3 separate regions of the Homo sapiens genome follow, and regions 1 and 3 are each linked to region 2. The links are contacts of gene promoters, found by promoter capture Hi-C in blood cells and fetal thymus (Javierre and others, 2016). All regions are on one chromosome and are shown on one strand. Each heading gives the region's core, a stretch centred on a gene start or on the middle of the fragment in contact. The rest is flanking DNA. Distances are from core to core; before and after follow the strand shown.

Evidence for each region. The method cuts DNA at HindIII sites, captures the fragments that hold promoters and counts their contacts. A CHiCAGO score of 5 or more calls a contact.
Region 1: a fragment that was not itself captured here is called in contact with the fragment with the promoter of ZNF629 in region 2 in 4 of 17 cell types (M1 macrophages, M2 macrophages, megakaryocytes and 1 more); the score reaches 6.3 in M1 macrophages.
Region 3: a contact is called between a fragment that was not itself captured here and the fragment with the promoter of ZNF629 in region 2, in 2 of 17 cell types (erythroblasts and M1 macrophages). The highest score is 5.7, in erythroblasts.

The regions. Positions count from the first base shown.
Region 1 is chr16:30,901,627-30,904,839 of GRCh38, forward strand. It overlaps CTF1 (cardiotrophin 1), which reads left to right. Exons shown (of 3, transcript NM_001330.5): 3 at 452-1,921. The coding sequence ends at 913. It also overlaps the pseudogene CTF2P. Among named protein-coding and RNA genes, the nearest start is that of CTF1, 6.6 kb to the left of the region's middle. RefSeq lists a silencer at 400-899 and enhancers at 2,461-2,961, 2,962-3,213. The HindIII fragment of the contact is 3,666 bases long and covers 1-3,213 here.
Region 2 is chr16:30,785,786-30,789,164 of GRCh38, forward strand. It overlaps ZNF629 (zinc finger protein 629), which reads right to left and starts at 1,420. Exons shown (of 3, transcript NM_001080417.3): 1 at 1,243-1,420. RefSeq lists an enhancer at 1,370-1,489. The HindIII fragment of the contact is 10,939 bases long and covers 1-3,379 here.
Region 3 is chr16:30,884,724-30,887,957 of GRCh38, forward strand. All of the region lies in intron 2 of MIR762HG (MIR762 host gene), which reads left to right. BCL7C (BAF chromatin remodeling complex subunit BCL7C) reads right to left here. Exons shown (of 6, transcript NM_004765.4): 6 at 3,072-3,234. The coding sequence ends at 3,142. Among named protein-coding and RNA genes, the nearest start is that of MIR762, 7.6 kb to the right of the region's middle. RefSeq lists a silencer at 222-301 and an enhancer at 2,733-3,234. The HindIII fragment of the contact is 294 bases long and covers 1,258-1,551 here.

The sequences.
Region 1 (3,213 bases), core at 302-2,801, 120 kb after region 2:
CAGTGGTGCCATCATAGCTCATTGAAGCCTTGACCTCCTGGGCTCAAGCAATCCTCCCACCTCAGCCTCAGCCTCCGGAACAGCTGGAACTACAGACATGCGCCACCACACTCGCTATTTTTTTTTTTTTTTTTTTTTTTAGAGCTGTGGTCTTGCTGTGTTGCCTAGGCTGGTCTCGAACCCCTGGGCTCAAGTGATTATCTCACCTTGGCCTCCCAAAGTGCTGACCTAAACTGGCCCAGTCTGGGTCCAGTTTAGGGAGGAAGAAACAGGCATTGGTGTCAAGCGCATGCCACTTTGTTTTGCCTTAAACAGAGCAGCTCTGTTAGGAGGGATTATCATCTGCAAGATGAGGAAACTGACACCCCCAGAGAGCGGGTTGGAGAGCCCAGTTAACAGCCCCCTGCCCGTGCTCCGGGGCCCCGCTGACCCGCCGGCCGTGTCTCCGCAGGTGCAGCTCCAGGGAGACCCCTTCGGGCTGCCCAGCTTCTCGCCGCCGCGGCTGCCGGTGGCCGGCCTGAGCGCCCCGGCTCCGAGCCACGCGGGGCTGCCAGTGCACGAGCGGCTGCGGCTGGACGCGGCGGCGCTGGCCGCGCTGCCCCCGCTGCTGGACGCAGTGTGTCGCCGCCAGGCCGAGCTGAACCCGCGCGCGCCGCGCCTGCTGCGCCGCCTGGAGGACGCGGCGCGCCAGGCCCGGGCCCTGGGCGCCGCCGTGGAGGCCTTGCTGGCCGCGCTGGGCGCCGCCAACCGCGGGCCCCGGGCCGAGCCCCCCGCCGCCACCGCCTCAGCCGCCTCCGCCACCGGGGTCTTCCCCGCCAAGGTGCTGGGGCTCCGCGTTTGCGGCCTCTACCGCGAGTGGCTGAGCCGCACCGAGGGCGACCTGGGCCAGCTGCTGCCCGGGGGCTCGGCCTGAGCGCCGCGGGGCAGCTCGCCCCGCCTCCTCCCGCTGGGTTCCGTCTCTCCTTCCGCTTCTTTGTCTTTCTCTGCCGCTGTCGGTGTCTGTCTGTCTGCTCTTAGCTGTCTCCATTGCCTCGGCCTTCTTTGCTTTTTGTGGGGGAGAGGGGAGGGGACGGGCAGGGTCTCTGTCGCCCAGGCTGGGGTGCAGTGGCGCGATCCCAGCACTGCAGCCTCAACCTCCTGGGCTCAAGCCATCCTTCCGCCTCAGCTTCCCCAGCAGCTGGGACTACAGGCACGCGCCACCACAGCCGGCTAATTTTTTATTTAATTTTTTGTAGAGACGAGGTTTCGCCATGTTGCCCAGGCTGGTCTTGAACTCCGGGGCTCAAGCGATCCTCCCGCTTCAGCCTCCCTAAGTGCTGGGATTGCAGGCGTGAGCCACTTTCCCAGCCTCTCTTTGCTTTGCCTGCCCCGTTCTCTTAACTCTTGGACCCTCCTCGTCTGCATGGTAACTCCGTCTGAGTCTACCATTTTCTTGCTCTCCCTCCTTCCTTGGGCCTGCCTCAGTTCCCTTTGGCCTCCCCCTTTACCCAGCTCTTGGGGTGTCTCTGTTTTTTCCATCCCCACTTCCTGCCTTCTCGTGGCCCTGTGTGAGCACATGTGTACATCTCAGCCTTATCTCAAGGAGGTGACACCTTCTCTCCTTGTCCCCATCTGGCTGTCTCTCTGTGCTTCCCTGGCCAGGGGCGTGCCTGCTGGTCCTATGGGGGGAAGGCTACTCTGCATCTCAGCCACCTTCCTCAGGCTCACTCCACCTACATCCCCAGTCTGCCACACCCCATCCCTTTGGGCCTCAGCCCTGTCCCTTTGATGTCCTCCTTTCCTTCAGCCCCTCTGCCCTGTCCCTGCACACCTCCACTGCCTCCCAGCAGATCTGTGGAGACAAAACAAGCAACACCTTAAAAGAGTTTTATTTCTGAAAATAAATTAATTTTTTGTAAATAAAATGTTTAAAAATAAAAAAGAAACTAAAGTTACTTGTATATATAGTTGTTGAAAATGGGGAGACAGCTTTAGGGAGAAAAGGACCCTTGGGATGCAGCCTAGTCCCCCAGACATGCCCAAGAAGCCCAGCAGTATAAATAGGAGGCTGACAGCCCCTGGCCAGTGGTGCCCTCTGCCAGCCCAGAACAGGAAGTGGATGTGTCCTAACAGGAAACAGATGTGATGCAGTCCTTAGTTCTTCAAGAATTGGGCTTCCATGGATCAGGAAGTGGAGCCCCTGAGGACAGGAAGTGGAACAGTAGCCCCAGAGAGACAGGCCAAGGAGGGGAGCCAATGAACTTCAGCAGGAAGAAGGAAGCCTATCCGCTTAGAAAGGCGGGCTCTTCATACAGCGAATGAGGCAGACAGAGACAGGAAGGCAGCCCCAACCGTCCCAAAATTACAAAAAAGGGAAGGTCTCAGGGAGAGCCTAGGAAGGGGACCAACTGTCCTCTCCCTGTAGAGTGACAGGTGAAGCCTCTTTGGAGAGGTGCATCTTTCCAACCAGGAAGTGGACACCCAGTACCACTGGATGGGTAACCCATGGAATGGCATCCATGGAGGTTGACCCAGACCTAGAACGCAGGCCAGAGGACCTGGGCCGGAAGGCCCTGAAATAAGGAAATTGAGGCCTGGCTCCCAGGAAATATTCCCATACATGGCACCCAAGCCCCATCTGCTAGATGAGGTTTATCTCCTTTTCTAGCCCACAAGCAAGGCAGAAAAGAGGCCATTGTGAAAGAGGAAGTGCTGCAGCCTCTGACAGGAAGTCCTACCCCTCTATGCTGAGTACTTAGCCTTGAGCAGAGCCAAGTCTCTCACAGCTCGGTCTGTCCAGTGGCCATATTCCCGGGTCACCACGTAGCCTCGACATTTCCTCTCAAAGGCCGAGGCCCCAAAGGCAGCAAGCCCTAGAGTATCCTCTTCTGGGGGGATTGGCAGCCCCAGGGCCGTCATGATGGCGGCCATATTGCCCAGCAGGCCTTGGGCCCTGAGTCTCGCAGCCCCGAGCTGAGCCGGCAGGATGGGACTGCCAGGGTTCAGGTCGCTCTGGTCGTCCTCCACGAGCTGGAGGTGCTGGGTCAATGGCCCTCTGGGCAAGGCTCAGCCGTTCCCCGTCATCCAGGGCGTGCCAGGTCTTAAAGAAGGCGGTGGCAGGAGGCAGGCTGCTGAGCTGGAGCTCAGGGGCTGAGAAGCCAGGGTCACTAAAGGGGCTGCCCTGGTACTGGAGCTGCAGGAGGGACAGAGACAGACAGGAGTGAGGGGACCAGA
Region 2 (3,379 bases), core at 170-2,669:
GTCTAATGCCTTTAAAGATCAGTTTGCAAGGGGATGGCAGCAAAGGAGCAGGAGTTCCAAGTGGCCCCCTGGTAAAATAAATAAATAAATAAATAAATAAATAAATAAAAACAGCCAGCTGTCACTCCAAAAATGGTGAGATGAGTTCAGGATGAGGGAATGGGGCCACAGGAACAAAGCGCTTGAAGGAGGTCCCACACCATTTACACCCTGCAGAGAATCCCTGGGTGGGGCCTGGAAACTTTGGATGGCTGTGTGAGGTGGGCGCTGTGTGCACAGGGGCAGTGGGGCAAGGGAGACATGGCAGGAGGCGCTGAGAGGTGACCAAGGTGAAGCAAGACTGGCTGCACCCTGCCAAAGAGCGGTAGGAGAGACAGAAGTTAGCGTTTAGGAAGTAAATTAATTTCTTCATCTCTGCAGCTACTTAAGCTCCGAGAATCCCCCCTCCCCGCCTGTAAGTGTCTTTGGGGTGGTGGAAGCGGAGACCTCTGCCACACTGGGGGCTGCCTGATGTCCGGTCCGGGAAGGATGCCCTGCTGTGTTTGCTCGGGACAGGTAAGAGTTTGTGGACCTCGATGGTCTCCAAAAAATTCTCCCCTAGTGGTCCAGAGTAGGAGGGAAAGGGTTAATGACAGGGCCGACACAGAGCATGGACGTGGGAAGACCGAGGGAGGCCGAGGCGCTGGGAGCCCAGGCGCCAGGCACGCCAGCCTGAGACCTCGCGATGGCCCCACTGCAGAGGGAGGGAATGAGGAGCCGCCTCCCGAGAGATGTGGGGAACGGCCCAGGGTGACCCTGACATGGAGGCGGCGGGAATGCGGCCGCCCGGCCCGGCCCCCCCACCGCTTGGCTCCGGACTTCTGCTCCCCCGGAGCCGCGACCCCCGTCCCGCTGCTGATACAGAGCCTGGGCATCCGCCCCTGCCCCGGCCCCCGGGGTCCCGGCTCCTTCCAGCACTGCCAGGCTCCTCCAGGGCTGCGCTGGCAGCGCTGGTCCCCGGCCCCGGCCGATCCCTCTTCCCAGAATCCCCAGGCTCCCCTCCCCCGCCACCGACCCCCGCGCTTCCCAGAATCCTCGGCCCTCCGCGCCCCCCGCCCGCCCCCACCCCGGCCACAGCCCCGGGCGCGGGTGGGGGGCTCAGGCCCGGGCTCCCGGCCCCCGCCTCCCGGGCCCCATTGTTCCCCGGCGGCCGTCCCGGGCACTCCAGGCCACCCCCCGGGAACCCAGGCGTCCCCAACTCACGGCTCTGGGGTCTGGGAAAAGCCGGAAGGCGGAATCCAGCCCCAGGGGACTTAACCCCTTCAGTGCCCTGCCTCGGGGGACGGACTGGGCGCCGAGGACTCTGGGGTCCTTCTCAAGGGGTGATTCCAGGCTGAGGACCCGGGGACCAGTTCAGGGTGACTGGGACGGAGCAGGAAGTGACCCCAGCTTCCCGGGCCCCTCTAGCCTGGAGTCAGAGCATCAGCTCTATGGGATTTAACCCTTTGCCTCCCGCAGCCTGGGGAAAAAAGGGGACAGCGGTGGGAGCAGGGAGGAGGCTGGGACGACGCCCCTGTCCCCGTCTCCAGTGGGAGCAGGCAGCGTGGGCATCTGGGAGAGCCCCGATGCCCGCGAGGGTCCCTGGGCTTCTGGCCGCTCTTCATTTCGCAGGGGCTCCGCCGGCCGCGCCCGGAAAGCCCTATCTCAGATTTGGCGGCTGCTGATCCCCTGAGGCCAGTCTTTGTTTGGACTAACCCTGGGATGGGGCTGGGGTGGGAGCAGGGGCTGGCAGAGCAGACCTGAGAGGGAACACCCTACGCACTAAACATGGCCTTAATGCTTGATGGAAGTCATGGCTGCAGGAGTTGGGACTGCAGGAACAAGCACAGCCGGGAAGGATTTGCAATAGCCTGTGTTCCAGCCCCTCTTCTCCAAACACCTCCCCTCAGAGGAGGAAACTGAGGCTCACGGTGGCAGGAAAGAAGCCAGTGGGGGTTCCCTGGCCAAGGAGGGAGAACCTCTTTTCTCATAGCTCAGAGGGCACCCGGCTCACAGCAGAAGAAACCTTTAAAAACCCAGGAACACTGGTGGCCTCTCAACGTCCAAGTTATCTATGCTCGCAATTTTTACAGCCTTTCTTTCTTGTCTTCCTTATCACAGTCCCATGGGATAAGGTTGCCCATCATCCCCATTTCACCGGGGAGGAAACCAAGGTGTGAGAAGCGACTGGTGTACTTAAGGCCACCTGATTCTTTCAGTTCAACACACTGCATTATTATTCCTGGGCACTGTGGTTAACACTGGGGTGGGCATACCTCTGAGATGCATGGAAATTGGGCTTTCTACCCTTGGGAAGTTTGGTATTGTGTATGTGTTACAAACACAGAGGAATCCTGGGAGCGTGCAGAGGGCTCTGTCCAGAGACTGAGAGGCTGGGGGGAAGAATAAACCAAAGGTCAGAAATTACTAAAGGCAGCTGGGTGCGGTGGCTCACGCCTGTAATCCCAACCCTTTGGGAGACCAAGGCAGGCGGATCACTTGAGGTCAGGAGTTTGAGACCAGCCTGGACAACATGGTGAAACCATGTCTCTACTAAAAATACAAAAATTAGCCAGGCGCAGTGGCTCATGCCTATAATCCCAGCACTTTGTGAGGCCGAGGCAGGCAGATCGCTTGAGCCCGGGAGGCAGAGGTTGCAATAAGCCAAGATTGAGCCACTGCACTGCAGCCTGGACGACAGAGTGAGATCCTGTCGCAAAAAAAAAAAAAAAAAGAAGGAGGGAGGGAGGGAGAGAAAGAGAGAAAAGGAAGGAAGGAAGGAAGGAAAAGAGAAAACAGGAAAGAGAAAAAATTGCTAAAGGCCAGGCCTGGTGGCTCATGCCTGTAATCCCAGCACTTTGGGAGGCTGAGGCAGAAGGGTAACTTGAGCCCAGGAGTTTGAAGGCTGGGCAACATAGTGAAACCCTGTCTCTACAAAAAACTTAAAAACAATTAGCTGGGCAGGGCGCGGTGGCTCATGCCTGTAATCCCAGCACTTTGGGAGGCCAAGGTGGGTGGATCACCTGAGGTCAGGAGTTCAAGACCAGCCTGACCAACATGGAGAAGCCCCATCTCTACTAAAATACAAAAATTAGCCCAGCGTGGTGGTGCATACCTGTAATCCCAGCTGCTTGGGACGCTGAGGCAGGAGAAGCGCTTGAACCTAGGAGGCGGAGATTGCAGTGAGCTGAGATCGTGCCATTGCACTCCAGCCTGGGCAACAAGACCAAAACTCGGTCTCAAAAAAAAAGAAAGACAACAACAACAACAAAAACAAACAATTACCCTGGCGTGGTGGTGCATCGCTATGGTCACAGCTACTTGGGCTGAGGCAGGAGAATCACTTAATTCTGGGAGGTGG
Region 3 (3,234 bases), core at 155-2,654, 99 kb after region 2:
CTGACCTCAGTAATCCAACCACCTCAGCCTCCCAAAGTGCTGGGATTACAGGTGTGAGCCACCATGCCTGGCCTATTATCTCCATTTTATAGATGAGAAAACAGATGCACAGAAAGGTTCAGTCACTTGCTCAAGGTGATACAACAAATGAATGCAGATGCTGAGATTCAAACCCGGAACCTGAATTCTGAGCTTCAACACTGCACCACTAACCCACACAAGGGACTTTCCCATTTACAGAACACTCTCCTCCCTCGGGAGTGGTTGAGGGGAGTCATGAGGTGGCCACACACCCAGCAAACAGCCGACATTACCATGAAGATGGCCCTCCAAAGAAGTCCACATCTGAATCCCCAGAATCTGTGCATGTGTTGCTTTATATGGCACATGGGCTTTTGCAGGTGTGATGAAACTAAGGATTGTGAGATAGGAAGAGTGTCCTAGATTATTCAAATGGGCCCAGTGTCATCACAGGGTCCTTGGAGGAAGGAGGCAGGAGAGTTAGAGAAGATGTGACGATGGAGAGAGATTGGAAGATGCTACACTGCAGGTAGCCTCTAGAAGCCGGAAAAGGCAAAGAAAGAGATCCTCCTCTGGAGGGAACTACTGCTGAGACCTTGACTTTAACCCAGTGAGACTAACTTTGGACTTCTCCAGAACTGTAAGAGAATCAATGTCTGTGGCTTTTTCTTTTTTTTTTTTTTGAGATGGAGTCTTGCTCCATCACCCAGGCTGGAGTATAGTGGTGCGATCTCGGCTTACTGCAACCTCCCGGATTCAAGCAGTTCTCCTGTCTCAGCTTCCCGAGTAGCAGGGATTACAGGCGCCCGCCACTATGCCCAGCCAACTTTTGTATTTTTAGTAGAGACGGAGTTTCACCTTGTTGGTCAGGCTGGTCTCACACTCCTGACCTCAGGTGATCCACCCACCTCGGCCTCCCAAGGTGCTGGGATTATAGGCATGAGCCACTGTGCCTGGCTAATGTCTGTGGCTTTGAGCCCCTATATGTGTGGCAATTTGTTACAGCAGTGATAAGAAACAGTTACACTACATTGCAGCAAGCCTGGCTTCCCTGGACAGCACTGGCTCCACCAACACCACTGCAGCTGCTGTCGGAAGCATCCTTACATTTCCTTTGTTTGTTTAGACACAGGGTCTTGCTTTGTTGCCCAGATTTGAGCACAGTGGTGCAATCATCACTCACTGCAGCCTCAACTTCCCGGGCTCAAGCAATCTTCCCACCTCAGCCTCCCAAGAAGCTTGGACTACAGGCGCGCACCAGTATGCCTGGCTAATTTTTTCATTTTTGTCTTGCTTTGTTGCTCAAGCTGGTCTCAAACTCCTGGCCTCAAGCAGTCCTCCCACCTGTGCCTCTCAAAGGCCTGGGATTACAGGTGTGAGCCACCACACCTAGCCTACAGTTTTTAATGCTTCTTTAAAGTTCCAATTTGGTCCTCTCTGAACCTCAGTATCTTTCTTTATTAAAAATAAAAATAGGGCCAATATACATGACCCTATAGGCACAGAGTGAGAGGGCCTTATATTACTCGAAGCTTCCCACAAACCCCTGGGGCAGATGAGGCCTAGTTATTGTTCCCATTGCTCAGATGAACAAACTAAGGCTGAGAGTAGAAACAGCCTGCCTAGAGCCACTCAGGGAGTAACAGAGCCAGGACTTGAACCAGGGCTTCTGACTTGAGTTCTAGCACAGAGGTTCATGTCTCAGAGCCCAGCTCACATGCCACCTCCTCAGAGAAGCCTGCCTGGAAAACCCCAGCCCATTCATGTATTCATTTATTCATGAAGCAGCTGCTGGGACTGCCCTGTTCCCAGTGTTGTGTGGAGACCCCTCAGGAGCCCACAGCCTCGTAGACAAGACAGACACACAAACCACGGATCCCAGAACAGCCTGATAAATGATGAAACAAGGAGAATGAAGCCCAAGGGGTTGCTGGAGCTCAAAAAAGGGGAAACTCACTGAGCCTGGAGTCAGGGAAGGCTTCTCGGAGGAGATGGTGATTGAGATGGGGATAAGTTAGACCCAACCAGAAGTGTGGCCAGGCATCCCAGGTGGAGGAGTGGCTTCTTCAGGGCAGGGAATGGGTTGGTCATCCCAGGCCCCCAAGTCCCTCTGGGCCTCTGTGTTATTATGTATGAAACGTGAATAGGCTGGGCGCGGTGGCTCACGCCTGTAATCCCAACACTTTAGGAGGCCAAGGCAGGAGGAACACTTGAGCCCAGGAGTTCAAGACCAGCCTGGGCAATGTAGCGAGACCCCATGTCTACAAAAAATAAAATTAGCAGGCTGGGCATGGTGGCTCATGCCTGTAATCCCAGCACTTTGGGAGGCCGAGGCGGGCAAATCACTTGTGGTCAGGAGTTTGAGACCAGCCTGGCCAACATGGCAAAACCCAGTCTCTACTAAAAATACAAAAATTAGCCGGGCGTGGTGGCAGGCACCTCTAATCCCAGCTACTCAGGAGGCTGAGGCAGGAGACTTGCTTGAACCCAGGAGGCAGAGTTTGCAGTGAGGCGAGATTGCGCCATTGCACTCCAGCCTGGGCAACAAGAGCAAAACTCTCTAAAAAAAAATAGTGATAAATAAATAAATAAATAAATAAAATTAGCTGAGTATGGTGGCACACACCTGTGGTCCCGGCTACTTGGGAGGCTGAGGTGGGATGTCAAGGCTGCAGTGAGCCATGATCGCACCACTGCACTCCTGCCTGGGCAACAGAACAAGTCTGTGTCTCAAAAAAAAAAAAAAAAAAAAAAGAATCATGGCCTAGCTACCCAGAGTTTTGATAATTGTTAGGCCCAGGCGAGGGCTGAGCAGGAAGAGGGGTCCTGGGCCTCCCAGAGGAGGAGGTGAAGGTCGGGAGATAGGACAGACCTGGGAAGTACTGAGAGGCAGGGTCCTGGCTCAAGCCCCCACCCCACTCTGCCTTGTGGTGTCACTACAGGAAGGTCCTCTCAGAGCCTCAGTGACCACATCTGAGCAATGGTGCATGAGACAAAACTGTCTCCAAAGACCCTCCCCAGCCCTGACGGGGAAATGACATGACACAAAATTACAAAAGGGTCTTTATTTGTAAAAAGCCAAAGGGGCCCCTGGGGCAACAGGACAGGCAGGCCGGCTTCTCAGGGGTCAGGGGCATTTGGGCAGATGCGCTTGAGTGGGGGGGCACCCTCCGAGTCCTCTGTGTCACCCTGGGCTGCCTCAGGGACAGGTGG